Regions from separate parts of the Homo sapiens genome. Here region 2 is linked to region 1. The links are contacts of gene promoters, found by promoter capture Hi-C in human tissues and cell types (Jung and others, 2019). All regions are on one chromosome and are shown on one strand. Each heading gives the region's core, a stretch centred on a gene start or on the middle of the fragment in contact. The rest is flanking DNA. Distances are from core to core; before and after follow the strand shown.

Region 1 (7,556 bases), core at 2,130-4,629:
TGTTTCCAGTTGCTCCTGATTTTTACAGGAAAGTGACATCTGGCTCCCTGCTGGCCCCATTTGGCAGCTGGCCAGCCTCAGCAGAAGGCCCTGGTTCTGGAAGGGTATGGTCAGCTTGGGAAGCTGGGCAGGAAGAATCCCTGGGGCTGGGCCGTCTCTGAGAAGACCCCTTGAGTCAGCATGGAGAGCAGGCAGCTGTGGTGTGAGGTGGTTCTGCCAGCTGGTTGTAAAGTCACTTGACACGGGTTTCCAGAGGGTGACGCTCAACCTTTGCCAGTCACGGTAACAACGGGGAAAAAGGGACCTGCCCTTCTTCCCCTGCACATTTTACAGGCATGTGCCACCACACCTGGCTAAGTTTTTTTTTTTCTTTTTTTTTTTTGAGACGGAGTCTTGCTCTGTTGCCAGGCTGGAGTGCAGTGGCGCAAGCTCGGCTTACTGCAACCTCTGCCTCCTGGGTTCAAGCAATTCTCCTGCCTCAGCCTCCCGAGTAGCTGGGACTACAGGTGTGTGCTGCCATGCCCAGCTAATTTTTGTATTTTTAGTAGAGACGGGGTTTTACCATGTTGGCCAGGATGGTCTCAATCTCTTGATCTTGTGATCCACCCACCTCAGCCCCTCAAAGTGCTGGGATTACAGGCATGAACCACTGTGCCCGGCCTAATTTTTGTATTTTTAGTAGAGATGGGATTTTACCATGTTGGTCAGGCTGGTCTCGAACTCCTGACCTCAGGTGATCCGCCCTCTTCGGCCTCCCCAGATGCTGGGATTACAGGTGTGAGCCAGCGCGTCCGGCCTCTACTGCTTTTACAGTTCCCCCAACATGGATTTCCATGGTGGCAGGTGCCTGGGAGATTCAGTGGCCTCCCCTCAGCCTAAATTCCACAGCCCTCCCGCCGGTCCCCTGCTAGTCCAGTCCCCTCTCCCCCTGCTGGTCTGCAGGAGCAGCCGAGCCAGGGAACCAGGTGCTCTCCCAGCATTTGTGACAACAATAATGCTCTTCCCTTCAGGCCCGCTGTGGCCTTGGGGACTTTGTGGCTCAGGGACAACTTTCTCCAGAGCTCATATCCAGTGCTGAGTGGGGATTCCTTGGTATAGGAGTTTTTCTCGGTTTTCCACCCATTATGTGGGGGTTTTCCTCTGACGACCCTTCATGACGCAGGAGCTGGTTTCCTGTGTGAGATTTCCCGCAGTCCTCCCTTGGAGCTAGGTCTTGGGCCAGCAGGTGCCGTCTGCGTGCTACCATTGAGTAAGGGCAATGGGCTCATGGTGGGAATGGCCGTAACGTGGAAGAACTCCACCCTCCACGAGTTTCACCCCCTTGTTCTCTCTCTGCTTGCTCTGTCCTCTTATTCTTGGCTGCTAGAGTTGGATGTTATTTCTCTTACTTGCATCCCTACAATGAGAGGTGGGCATGTTGGGGAAGGTTCCCCCCAAACCACTTGTCTTATGGAACTGAAGAAACTGAAGCCTAGAGAAGGCTGCTTAGCAGAATCCAAGATGCTGATCCCATTGTTTATTCTTCTTTTAAAATTGCCATATTTTATTGATGTCTTCCCTTAGATCCATCAATAGAGAGGGAAAATCAGTCACCAAGAAGGGACCTCTTCTTCCAGGTTATGTAATTTGTCAAAGCTTGTTTGGCTCCTCAGTTCCCAAGGCACTGCTGACTTGAGCTTTGCCTAGGGACTAAGGCTCTGTAGTCTAAGCTTGTCACCCTCCCCTCCTCTTCAGCTTTCTCCTGGGGGGACATGGATGTGGCCCTTTGTTGTGTTGTTAAGTGTTATGCCTGAAGGCGTTACCCCAGGTACTCCCAGCACTACCTCGGGTTTCCTACTCTTGTGTTACCTCCTTGTCCTGATATGCCTCGAGGCCAGAGAAAGAGGTGGGGCCGGGAGGGCACGGGACAGCTGGGAGTACATTTCCACTGCCTGTGTGTGGAAGGGCCTGACTGCTTCTGTGGCAGCTCCTTTCCTGATGACATCCACCATGACATCACAACGAGGCTTTGGGAAAATTCCACGACCTGGCCATGCTGAGTCATACTTAGTCTCTGGGGATGTGTGTCACCTTTCTCTTGTCTGTCACTGAGTGCTGCAGTTACTATGAAGTGACACATGCTGCCCATTTATTACGTTTGCACATCACTTTATGCTGCTTTGGAGCCTCTTCTCATGTACATGCTGTGTATCAATGTGAAATGTATTAATATTAAATCATTAATAATAAGTATATTATTTATTCTGGAAAATATTTGTCTCTTGCAATGTGTGAGGAACCAGAGGTTCAGAGAGACTAGAGACTAAGCGACTTGGTGAGTTTCGGGTGACTGGTGCGTGGCATGTCTGAGGGAGGTTTGGATGCCACACCCACTCCTACCCCTGGATTTTTATGTAATGCAAAGATTATTCAGAAATTACTTTGGTCGAAAACAATTGATTTTCAATTTGTTAAAATTATGAATTCAGAAACCTAGTTATTTTAAGGGCCAGTCTTTTAAGTTTAGCTTATAAGTGTAGCCTATAAATCTTTCTGATCTATTTACGATTCTAGGACATTTTAACAGTCACTTTCAGGGGGCTTTTATTTATTTATTTTTTTTGCGATGGAGTCTCGCTCTGTCGCGATCTCGGCTCACTGCAACCTCCGCCTCCTGGTTCAAGCGATTCTTCTGCCTCAGCCTCCTGAGTAGCTGGGATTACAGGCGCCCGCCACCATGCTGGCTAATTTGTATTTTTAGTAGAGGCGGGGTTTCTTCATGTTGGTCAGGCTGGTCTCGAACTCCTGACTCAAGTGATCTGCCCGCCTCGGCCTCCCAAAGTGCTGGGATTACAGGCGTGAGCCGCCGCCCCGGCCTTAGGGGGCTTTTTGATTAATGCTTGGTCCCATTTGCAAATTTGATGAAACTTCTGAAATGTTTCAATTGAACTTATAAATCATATTCAACTTCAGTTAACTATTTTAATAATTCTTCTGGCCGGGCATGGTGGGTGGCTCACGCCTGTAATCCTAGCACTTTGGGAGGCCAAGGCGGGCAGATCACGAGGTCAAGAGATTGAGACCATCCTGGCCAACATGGTGAAACCCTGTCGCTACTAAAAATACAAAAATTAGCTGGGTGTGGTGGTCACGCGCCTGTAATCCCAGCTACTTGGGAGGCTGAGGCAGGAGAATCGCTTGAACCCGGGAGGCGGAGGTTGCAGTGAGCTGAGATTATGCCACTGCACTCCAGCCTGGCGACACAGCAAGACTCCATCTCAAAAAAATAATAATAATAATAAATAATAATAATAATTCTTCCATTTTTCTGATTAAAAAAACCCTCTAATACCTAAATGACTCTTGTAAATCTAATAAATGAAGCTGAATATTACACTTTTCTTAAACTTTCCTATACCGTTTTATGTTTTGTTTGTTTATTTTTGTTTATTTTGAGACGGTCTGATTCTGTCACTCAGGCTGGAGTACAGTGGCACAGTCTCAGCTCACTGCAACCTCTACCTCCTAGGCTCAGGTGATCTTCCCTTTTCAGACTCCTGAGTAGCTGGGACTACAGGTTCAAGCCACCACACCCGGCTAATTTTTGTACTTTTTGTGGAGACGGGGTTTCACCACATTGCCCAGGCTCATCTCGAACTCCTGAGCTCAAGCAATCAGCCCGCCTTGGCCTCCCAAAGTGCTGGGATTACAGGCGTGATACATTTTAGTTTTTACAATAGCTTTATTGGAGTATTACTGAGATATAATAAGTTGCACATATTTAAAGTATACAGTTTAGTAAGTTTTAACATATGTGTACCCTTGTGAAACCATCACTGCAGTCCAGAGAGTGAACACATTCATCACCTTTGGAATTCCTCCCTCTGCCTCCTCACTCTTCAGGAAACCATGGAACTGCTTTCTGTTACTATAGGTTAGTTTCCATTTTCTGGAATTTCACATAAATTGACTCATACAGTATATATTCTTTTTTCTCTGCCTTCTTTTACTCAGCATAATTATGTTGAGATATGTCCATGTTGTTGCTTGTATTGATAGTTCATTTCCTTCTTTTTTTTTTTTTTAAGACAGAGTCTTGCTCTGTCACCCAAGCTGGAATATAGCGGCGTGATCATAGCTCACTGCAGCCTTGATCTTCTGGGCTCAAGTGATCTCCCATCTCACTGAGTAGCTGGAACTACAGGTGTGTGCCACTACGCCTGGCATATCTATCTATCTATCTATCTATCTATCTATCTATCTATCTATCTATCTATCTTTAGTAGAGATGAGATCTCGGTATGTTGCTTAGGCTTTTTTTTTTTTTTTGAGACGGAATCTCACTCTGTCGCCCAGGCTGGAGTGCAGTGGCATGATCTCGGCTCACTGCAACCTCTGCCTCCCGGGTTCAAGCGATTCTTCTGCCTTAGCCTCCCAAGTAGCTGGGACTAGAGGCGCCCACCACCACGCCCAGCTAATTTTTGTATTTTTAGTAGAGAGGGGGTTTCACCATGTTGGCCAGGCTGGTCTCGACTCCTGACCTCAAATGATCCACCCCACCTCAGCCTCGAAAAGTGTTGGGATTACCTGCGTGAGCTACCGCACCTGGCCCTTAGGCTTGTCTTGAACTCCTGAACTCAAGCAGTCCTTCCCACTTTCCACCTTGGCCTCCCAAAGTGCTGGGGTTACAGGCATGAGCCACTGTTCCTGGTCAGTTCTTTTTTTTTTTTTGAGACTGAGTCTTGCTCTGTCGCACAGGCTGGAGTGCAGTGGCACGATCTCGGCTCACTGCAAGCTCCGCCTCAACCTCCCGAGTAGCTGGGACTACAGGCACCCACCACCACACCCAGCTAATTTTGTTTTTGTATTTTTAGTAGAGACGGGGTTTCACTGTGTTAGCCAGAATGGTCTTGATCTCCTGACCTTGTGATCCTCCCGCCTCGGCCTCCCAAAGTGCTGGAATTACAGGCATGAGCCACCGCACCCAGCTTTTTTTTTTTGCTGATTTCATTATATGGGTATTACAGTTTATCCAGTCACCTTTGTTGGTCATCTCAGGTGCTTCTACTTTTTGGCATCTACAAATAAAGCTACTGTGAACATTTGTGTATAAGTCTTTGTGTGAACATATATTTCCTTTTCTCTTGGGTAAATGCCTAGGAGTGGAGTGGCTGGATCCTGTGGTAGCTGTATGTATGTTTAACTTGAACTGCCAAATTTTCTGACGTGGTTGTAGTATTTTACATTCCTACCAGCTGTGTATGAGAGTTCCAGTTTCTCTTCATCCTCCCCAACACTGGCTATGGTTAGTCTTTTAAATTTTAGCCATTTAAAAAGGTATATGGTGGTATCTCATGGTTTCAATTTGAATTTTCCTAATGATAATGATGTTGAGCATCTTGTCATGTGTTTGTCATCTGCCAGTACTGATTTTAAACTTAGTAAAATTTCTATGTAAAATCACACGTCTAAACTAACTACTCAGTTACATGTTTTTTGTTTTGAGACAGGGTCTTGCTCTGTGCCCCAGGCTGGCTTGCACTGATGCGATCGTGGCTCACTGCAGCCTCGACCTCCCATGCTCAAGCGATCCTCCCATCTCAGCCTCTTGAGTAGCTGGGACCATGGCATGCACGTCATGCCTGGCTGATTTAAAAAAAATTTTTTTTTTGAGATGGAGTCTCACTCTGTTGCCCAGGCTGGAATGCGGTTTCATGATCTTGGCCTACTTGCAACCTCCGCCTGCTGGGTTCAAGCAATTCTTCTGCCTCAGCCTCCCGAGTAGCTGGGATTACAGGCGTGGCCCAGCTAATTTTTGTATTTTTAGTAGAGACGGGGTTTCACCATATTGGCCAGGCTGATCTCGAACTCCCGACCTTGTGATCTGCCCGCCTTGGTCTCCCAAAGTGCTGGGATTACAGGCATGAGCCACTGCACCTGGCCTTTTAAAAAATTTTCTTTGTAGAGGTGGGATTTCACTGTGTTGCCAGGGCTGGTCTCAAACTGCTATCATGCGATCCACCTGCCTCAGCCTCCCAAAATCATGTGGTTACAGATGTGAGTCACCACGCCTGGCCTCAGTTACATGTTTTAATTGGAATCTCAAGACTGATTTGTTATTCTAAACAGACCATATTCTCTTAGAGTACATAAAGTAACAGACAACACACAGATTTCTTTTTTTTTTTTTTTTTTTTTTGAGACGGAGTCTCGCTCTGTCGCCCAGGCCGGACTGCGGACTGCAGTGGCGCAATCTTGGCTCACTGCAAGCTTCGCTTCCCGGGTTCACGCCATTCTCCTGCCTCAGCCTCCCGAGTAGCTGGGACTACAGGCGCCCGCCACCGCGCCCTGCTAATTTTTTGTATTTTTAGTAGAGACGGGGTTTCACCTTGTTAGCCAGGATGGTCTCGATCTCCTGACCTCATGATCCACCCGCCTCGGCCTCCCAAAGTGCTGGGATTACAGGCGTGAGCCACCGCGCCCGGCCAGATTTCTTAACACAAAAATATAAATACTATGGTTTTTATTTTCCTAGCCTTGTCTATATTTAATCTAATATTTTCCTGGAATTAGAGAAGCTTACCTAATAAGGAATTAAATACATGATTTTAAAGTATAGTAAATTATTTTTCTAATTAACTTTTGGCCTTTCTTTCTCAACTGGATGACATTTTCTTTATAATTAAAGAGACCCCTGGCAGGGATGAAACTGGACTTTGAATCTAACTGCTAAGCAGAGCCTGCTCCACTGCCACCATTTTGCCTCCAAATGGGGATGGTCTCACAGCCCATGTGCCTCAAATAGAAGTATCACATTACTAATGTCTTCCTCTTCTCATCTCATGTAACTCTGCAGTTCCGACCCGCCCCCCCAAACCATTTGAATTCAGTTAATCTATTTAAGGCTTCCTTTTTGTTATGCAGTATGGCCACAAAAATAGGTGGAACTAAATACAAAATAGATACAGTTTAGATTCTTTAGATTCTCTGTATCTCCCAAGGCTTTCTCTGACCAAGGACTAGTAAAATCATGTCTGACCCACCAGGGCTAGAATTTGAGTCCCAGTCTTCTGAGTCCATGTCTGGCATTTCCTTCCATCTCTTAAACCTTTTCAAATAAAGAGAAAGAGGGTGGTACTTAAGAGTTCTTACTTTCTGATCACGCCTGGTTACCAATAAATTATAGCATCTGGAACCAGTGCCACCTTTTTCATGTTCTTCAGTTCACGCCCCTGGAAATGGTGAGAATTTTGGCCTCTCCCTAACCTCCCGGTGGAGAGCTACCAATCTTTGGAGAGCCCATTGCCATCAAATTCTTGTTAGAAATCTGCGTCTTGGATGATAACTAGATGCAGAATTGCATTCCTGTCCTGGTCACTGGGTATGGCCCCAGGAAGCTTGTAGGTGGTGAGTGGACCTGGTTGAGAATTATTAATGCAGTTTGACCTCTCCGTTGATGTCTGATGCACATGTGGCCCAATGTGAGTAAGAGCAGAGGTTTGTAGAGTGACAAGAAAAGGACATTTGGGGGAGAAATTGGCAGGAGGCTGACTTAGGTTTTTGCGCTGCAAGAGTTT
Region 2 (7,556 bases), core at 373-2,872, 360 kb after region 1:
CCTGCTTTGGCCTCCCCAGTAGCTGGGACTACAGGAGTGCACCATGACGCCCAGCTAATTTTTGTATATTTTATAGAGGAGGGTTTTCGCCATGTTGCTCAGGCTGCTCTCAAACTCATGGACTTGAGCAATCTACCTACTTTGGTGTCCCAAAGTGCTGGGATTACAGGCGTGAGCCACTGAGCCTGGCCTGGATAAACACTTAACAGAATCAAAGGAAGCCAGTTCCCAGAGCCATGCTGGTGGCTCTACCTTTCCAGATCTTTCTCATTGTGCCAGGTCACCTCCAGACCAGCTGGCCTTTTATTTATTATTATTATTTTTTTGAGACGGAGTCTCACTCTGTTGCCCAGGCTAGAGTGCAGTGGCGCGATCTCGGCTAACTGCAAGCTCCGCCTCCCGGGTTCACGCCATTCTCCTGCCTCTGCCTCCCAAGTAGCTGGGACTACAGGCGCCCACCACCACGCCCGGCTAATTTTTTGTATTTTTTAGTAGAGACAGGATTTAACTGTGTTAGCCAGGATGGTCTCGATCTCCTGACCTGGTGATCCACCCACCTCGGCCTCCCAAAGTGCTGGGATTACAGGCATGAGCCACCACACCCAGTGGTATAGAAAGCTACCCAGGATGGTATAGGGCCTGAGCTGCTGTTTGCTTTGTCAAGATTATGTTGTTTCCCAAGCAAAAACTGCCTGTTTTCCCAGGAACTCCCTCAGCCTAGCTCCTCAGTCTCTGGGGCACCTGAGGTTCAGGACAACAAGACAGGCAGTTAGAATCTGTCAGGGCAAGCTGGACAGCTGTACTCTAGGCTCTGCCTCCAGGTCTGTGTGTAACTCTGAGAACATGCCTTTCACTCTCTGGGGTTCACTTTCTGCATCTGTAAAATGGGAGTAGGGTTCGCCTAATAGATTCGCCTGGTCCCTCCCAGAGGCTTCTGGACTGTCTGCAGAAAAGTTTACCCTGTTCTTACCTGCCACCCCTTGCAGGGATTTGCGCACCGCGTCCACACAGCTCTGACAGGTCATCTGCACCGCGAACTCCAACTGCAAGGGCGGCAGGGACCAACCGATGATCGCTGGGGAAGTGCCTTGGTATGACTTTGTTTCACCACCTACCCTATGACCACCGCAAGGGTCTGGGAACAAGCCCCACTTAACCCCTCTTCAAGCACCTTCTTCATGATCTCTCATGACCATTCCAGGACCATGGGAGTCACCCCCCAACACTCACGCAGGGCCCCTGCTACCCTCGCACCCTAGTTTCATCCCATGGCCCCAGGCCCCAACCCAAGTGCCCACTCCTTCTCCTCTTCCCAAGGTAACGATCATCCCAGGGGCCGAGGCTCTCTGCCCGGCGAGGCTCCACACGAAGCCTCGACCCTCACCGTGCAGAGGGTCCCCTGGTTCCCCGAATCCGAAGCCATTCTGGACCCAGTCACCACCCCGAGACGCAGAACTCCTCCGGCGCAGGAGCACCAACCAGCGCGGCGTCGCGGGGACTGAGCCTCTAAAGCCACCCTTAACTCCTCCTCCTAGTGCGTGCGCACGCAAGGCCCTGCTTCGTCAGCCACCGGGTGGCGGCCGCGCAGGCGCACTCGGGCCGTCGGGCTCCTGGTTGCCTTAGTAACCCCTCGGCTTTCTGTTCCTGGACGGTGGCGGCCGCCGGCTCTATGATGGAGCCCCCGAAGCCCGAGCCTGAGCTCCAGCGGTTTTACCACCGGCTGCTGCGTCCGCTGTCGCTCTTCCCCACTAGGACGACGTCCCCAGAGCCTCAGAAGCGCCCCCCGCAGGAGGGCCGGATTCTGCAGTCCTTCCCTCTGGCGAAGCTGACGGTGGCGTCGCTGTGCAGCCAGGTGGCCAAGCTGCTGGCCGGCAGCGGGATAGCAGCGGGAGTGCCTCCTGAGGCCCGACTACGTCTCATCAAGGTCATCCTGGACGAGCTGAAGTGCAGCTGGCGGGAGCCGCCCGCCGAACTTAGTCTGAGCCACAAAAACAACCAGAAGCTGCGGAAGCGGCTCGAGGCCTACGTGCTGCTGAGCAGCGAGCAGCTCTTCTTGCGCTACCTGCACCTGCTGGTGACCATGTCGACTCCCAGGGGGGTCTTCACTGAATCAGCCACCCTCACCCGGTTGGCCGCCAGCCTCGCCAGGGACTGCACACTCTTCCTTACTAGTCCCAACGTCTACCGTGGCCTGCTTGCCGACTTCCAGGCCCTGCTGAGGGCAGAGCAGGCCTCTGGGGATGTGGACAAGCTGCACCCTGTCTGCCCCGCTGGGACGTTCAAGCTGTGCCCTATCCCCTGGCCTCACAGCACTGGCTTCGCCCAAGTGCAGTGCTCTAACCTCAACCTGAACTACCTCATCCAACTCAGCCGTCCACCAGAGTTTCTCAATGAGCCAGGAAGGATGGATCCAGTGAAGGAATTGAAGTCCATCCCTCGGTTGAAGAGGAAAAAGCCTTTCCACTGGCTGCCCTCCATAGGAAAGAAGAGAGAAATCGACATCAGTTCCTCACAGATGGTGTCGCTGCCCAGCTATCCTGTGGCCCCCACCAGCAGGGCTTCCCCCTCGCCTTTCTGCCCTGAGCTCCGGAGAGGCCAATCCATGCCCTCCCTGCGTGAGGGCTGGAGGCTGGCAGATGAGTTGGGCCTTCCTCCACTCCCATCTCGCCCCTTAACCCCGCTGGTCTTGGCTACAGAGAGCAAACCAGAGCTGACTGGGCTCATCGTGGCTGAGGATCTGAAGCAGTTGATAAAGAAGATGAAGTTGGAGGGGACTCGCTACCCACCACTGGACTCAGGCCTGCCTCCTCTCCTGGGGGTTGTGACCCGTCACCCAGCTGCAGGGCATCGCCTGGAGGAGCTGGAGAAGATGTTGAGGAACCTCCAGGAGGAAGAAGCCTCTGGGCAGTGGGACCCCCAGCCCCCCAAATCCTTTCCACTTCACCCACAGCCAGTGACCATTACTTTGAAGCTTAGAAATGAGGTCGTGGTCCAGGCGGCTGCCGTACGGGTCTCTGATAGAAACTTCTTAGACTCTTTCCACATTGAGGGGGCCGGAGCCCTGTATAACCATCTGGCTGGTGAACTGGATCCCAAAGCCATTGAAAAAATGGATATTGATAACTTTGTTGGCAGTACTACCAGGGAGGTCTACAAGGAGTTGATGAGCCATGTCTCTTCTGACCACTTACATTTTGATCAAGGGCCCCTAGTTGAGCCTGCAGCAGATAAAGACTGGTCGACCTTCCTGTCCTCAGCCTTTCTACGTCAAGAAAAACAGCCTCAAATCATCAACCCTGAGCTGGTTGGACTTTACTCCCAGAGAGCAAACACTTTACAGTCCAATACTAAGAAGATGCCCTCCCTCCCATCACTCCAAGCTACCAAAAGCTGGGAGAAGTGGTCAAACAAGGCCTCCTTGATGAACTCATGGAAAACCACCTTGTCTGTGGATGACTACTTCAAGTACCTCACCAACCATGAAACAGATTTCCTTCATGTCATCTTTCAAATGCATGAAGAAGAGGTTCCTGTGGAGATTGTGGCCCCTGCCAGAGAGTCCCTAGAGATTCAGCACCCTCCCCCATTGCTAGAAGATGAAGAACCAGACTTTGTGCCAGGAGAGTGGGATTGGAACACTGTGCTAGAGCACAGGCTAGGAGCTGGGAAGACACCCCACCTGGGAGAACCCCACAAAATTCTGAGCCTGCAGAAGCATCTGGAACAACTGTGGTCTGTGCTTGAGGTCCCTGACAAGGACCAGGTGGACATGACCATTAAATATAGCTCCAAAGCCCGCCTGAGGCAGCTGCCTTCATTGGTGAATGCCTGGGAGCGGGCCCTGAAGCCCATTCAGCTGCGGGAGGCATTGCTGGCGAGACTAGAGTGGTTTGAGGGACAAGCTTCCAATCCCAACCGCTTCTTCAAAAAGACCAACTTGAGCTCCAGTCACTTCCTGGAGGAGAATCAGGTCCGAAGCCATCTCCACAGGAAGCTCAACTTAATGGAGTCTTCTTTGGTTTCCCTCCTGGAGGAGATAGAGTTAATCTTTGGCGAGCCAGTGATCTTCAAGGGGCGGCCCTACCTGGACAAGATGAAGAGTGACAAAGTGGAGATGCTCTATTGGCTGCAACAGCAGCGGCGGGTTCGCCACCTGGTCTCGGCCCTGAAGGATCCCCACCAGTCAACCCTGTTCAGGAGCTCAGCAGCCAGCCTTTAGTAGCTCCTGGGAATACCCCTATTACTCCTTGACCAGGCCCAGTGCCCTCAAATGCCTCCCTCACCCCTAAATGGCCAGCAGCTCATCTAGACCTCTTTACTGCTTTGGAAGAAGAAATATTTGTCTATATCTGGGAGTGGAGGGTTCAGGAACATTATGCTTCCAACTATGAAGGGATTGAGACTAAAACTATTGTTTTCTTAGTGAAATTCTCATGAAAGAATCCCCAAGCCTAGTAGTCCCATTATGTCAAGCCTTGCACAATACAAGCCAAATCTCCTATATCAAAAGAACTGAGACCTTGGAGTTAATTGTAGTGGGAAGGGTCAGAGGCAAAGGTGATCTTTGGAACAACTCACTTTAGCATTCCTATCACACTACATTAAATTGTCACCTCTTTTAGTTCTCAAACACTATTAGGAAGAAGAAAATTAATTAAATTTTTACCAGTTACGTGCACATGGTACAAAGTATACCAGGATGTGTACTGAAAAGTAAGCCTTCCCATACCCACCTCCAATGTCTGTTTCGTGCTGTGGGGATAAGTGTTACAATTTTTAAATTTAATTTAATTTTTATTTATGTATTTATTTATTTTTTGAGACAGAGTCTCACTCTGTTGCCCAGGCTAGAATGCAGTGGTACAATCTCAGCTCACTGCAACCTCTGCCTCCCTGGTTCAAGCGATTCTCCTGCCTCGGCCTCCTGAGTAGCTGGGATTACAGGCGCCTGCCACCACGCATGGCTCATTTTTGTATTTTTAGTAGAGATAGGGTTTCACCACGTTGGCCAGGCTGGTCTCAAACTCCTGAGCTCAGGCGATCCACCTGCCTCAACCTCCAAAAGTGCTGGGATTACAGGTATGAGCTACAGCACCTGGATTTTTTTTTTTTTTTCAATTTTAGAGATGGGGTCTTGCTCTGTTGCCCAAGCTGGAGTGCAGTGGCCTGATCATAGCTCACTGCAGCTTGAACTCTTGGGCTCAAGCAATCCTCCTGCCTCAGCCTCCTAAGTAGCTGGGACTACAGCTGCTCACCACTGCACCTGGCTAATTTTTTGAGTTTCTTAAAAAAAAAACAAATATATATATATACACACACACATACACACACATATATATGTGTGTGTGTATATATATATGTGTGTATATATATATATTTTTTCTTTTGAGAGGGAGTCTCGCTCTGTCGCCCAGGCTGGAGTACAGTGGCGCAATCTCGGCTCACTGCAAGTTCCGCCTCCTGGGTTCATGCCATTCTCCTGCCTCAGCCTCCTGAATAGCTGGGACTACAGGTGCCCACCATCACGGTCAGCTAATTTTTTTTTATTTTTAGTAGAGACGGGGTTTCACTTTGTTTTTTAATTTATTTTTTTATTGATAATTCTTGGGTGTTTCTCACAGAGGGGGATTTGGCAGGGTCATGGGACAACAGTGGAGGGAAGGTCAGCAGATAAACAAGTGAACAAAGGTCTCTGGTTTTCCTAGGCAGAGGACCCTGCGGCCTTCCGCAGTGTTTGTGTCCCTGATTACTTGAGATTAGGGATTGGTGATGACTCTTAACGAGCATGCTGCCTTCAAGCATCTGTTTAACAAAGCACATCTTGCACCGCCCTTAATCCATTTAACCCTGAGTGGACACAGCACATGTTTCAGAGAGCACAGGGTTGGGGGTAAGGTCACAGATCAACAGGATCCCAAGGCAGAAGAATTTTTCTTAGTGCAGAACAAAATGAAAAGTCTCCCATGTCTACTTCTTTCTACACAGACACGGCAACCATCCGATTTCTCAATCTTTTCCCCACCTTTCCCGCCTTTCTATTCCACAAAGCTGCCATTGTCATCCTGGCCCGTTCTCAATGAGCTGTTGGGTACACCTCCCAGACGGGGTGGTGGCCGGGCAGAGGGGCTCCTCACTTCCCAGTAGGGGCGGCCGGGCAGAGGCGCCCCTCACCTCCCGGATGGCGCGGCTGGCTGGGCGGGGGGCTGACCCCCCACCTCCCTCCCGGACGGGGCGGCTGGCCGGGCAGAGGGGCTCCTCACTTCCCAGTAGGGGCGGCCGGGCAGAGGCGCCCCTCACCTCCCGGACGGGGCGGCTGGCCGGGCGGGGGGCTGACCCCCCCACCTCCCTCCCGGACGGGGTGGCTGGCCGGGCGGGGGGCTGACCACCCCACCTCCCTCCCGGACTGGGCGGCTGGCAGGGCGGGGGGCTGACCCCCCCACCTCCCTCCCGGACTGGGCGGCTGGCCGGGCGGGGGGCTGACCCCCCCACCTCCCTCCCAGACGGGGCGACTGGCCGGGCAGAGGGGCTCCTCACTTCCCAGTAGGGGCGGCCGGGCAGAGGCACCCCCTCACCTCCCGGATGGGGCGGCTGGCCGGGCGGGGGGCTGACCCCCCCACCTCCCTCCCAGATGGGGTGGCTGGCCGGGCTGAGGGGCTCCTCACTTCCCAGTAGGGGCGGCCGGGCAGAGGTGCCCCTCACCTCCCGGACGGGGCGGCTGGCCGGGCGGGGGGCTGACCCCCCCACCTCCCTCCCGGACGGGGCGGCTGGCCGGGCGGGGGGCTGACCCCCCACCTCCCTCCCGGACGGGGTGGCTGCCGGGCGGAGGGGCTCCTCACTTCCCAGATGGGGTGGCTGCCGGGCGGAGAGGCTCCTCACTTCTCAGACGGGGCAGCTGCCGGGCGGAGGGGCTCCTCACTTCTCAGACGGGGTGGTTGCCAGGCAGAGGGTCTCCTCACTTCTCAGACGGGGTGGCCGGGCAGAGACGCTCCTCACCTCCCAGACGGGGTCGCGGCCGGGCAGAGGTGCTCCTCACATCCCAGATGGGGCCGCGGGGCAGAGGCACTCCCCACATCTCAGACGATGGGCGGCCGGGCAGAGACGCTCCTCACTTCCTAGATGTGATGGCGGCTGGGAAGAGGCGCTCCTCACTTCCTAGATGGGATGGCGGCTGGGAAGAGGCGCTCCTCACTTTCCAGACTGGGCAGCCAGGCAGAGGGGCTCCTCACATCCCAGACGATGGGCGGCCAGGCAGAGACACTCCTCACTTCCCAGACGGGGTGGCGGCCGGGCAGAGGCTGCAATCTCGGCACTTTAGGAGGCCAAGGCAGGCGGCTGGGAGGTGTAGGTTGTAGCGAGCCGAGATCACGCCACTGCACTCCAGCCTGGGCACCATTGAGCACTGAGTGAACGAGACTCCGTCTGCAATCCTGGCACCTCGGGAGGCCGAGGCTGGCGGATCACTCGCGGTTAGGGGCTGGAGACCGGCCCGGCCAACACAGCGAAACCCCGTCTCCACCAAAACCAGTCAGGCGTGGCGGCGCGTGCCTGCAATCGCA

The links. Contacts are between HindIII fragments. The study calls those that stand out against the background at their distance.
Region 2: a contact is called between the fragment with the promoter of CCDC87 here and a fragment that was not itself captured in region 1, in 1 of the 25 tissues and cell types used here (dorsolateral prefrontal cortex).

What each region holds. Positions count from the first base shown.
Region 1 is chr11:66,944,715-66,952,270 of GRCh38, reverse strand. The region is part of intron 3 of PC (pyruvate carboxylase); the gene reads left to right. Among named protein-coding and RNA genes, the nearest start is that of PC, 9.9 kb to the left of the region's middle. The HindIII fragment of the contact is 7,176 bases long and covers 1-6,967 here.
Region 2 is chr11:66,587,129-66,594,684 of GRCh38, reverse strand. CCDC87 (coiled-coil domain containing 87) reads left to right here and starts at 1,622. Exons shown (of 1, transcript NM_018219.3): 1 at 1,622-4,509. The coding sequence starts at 1,670. The coding sequence ends at 4,219. CCS (copper chaperone for superoxide dismutase) reads right to left here and starts at 1,500. Exons shown (of 8, transcript NM_005125.2): 1 at 1,385-1,500; 2 at 971-1,043. The coding sequence starts at 1,423. RefSeq lists enhancers at 1,636-1,725, 1,756-1,865, 2,036-2,095, 1,658-2,246, 2,247-2,836. The HindIII fragment of the contact is 7,748 bases long and covers 1-3,437 here.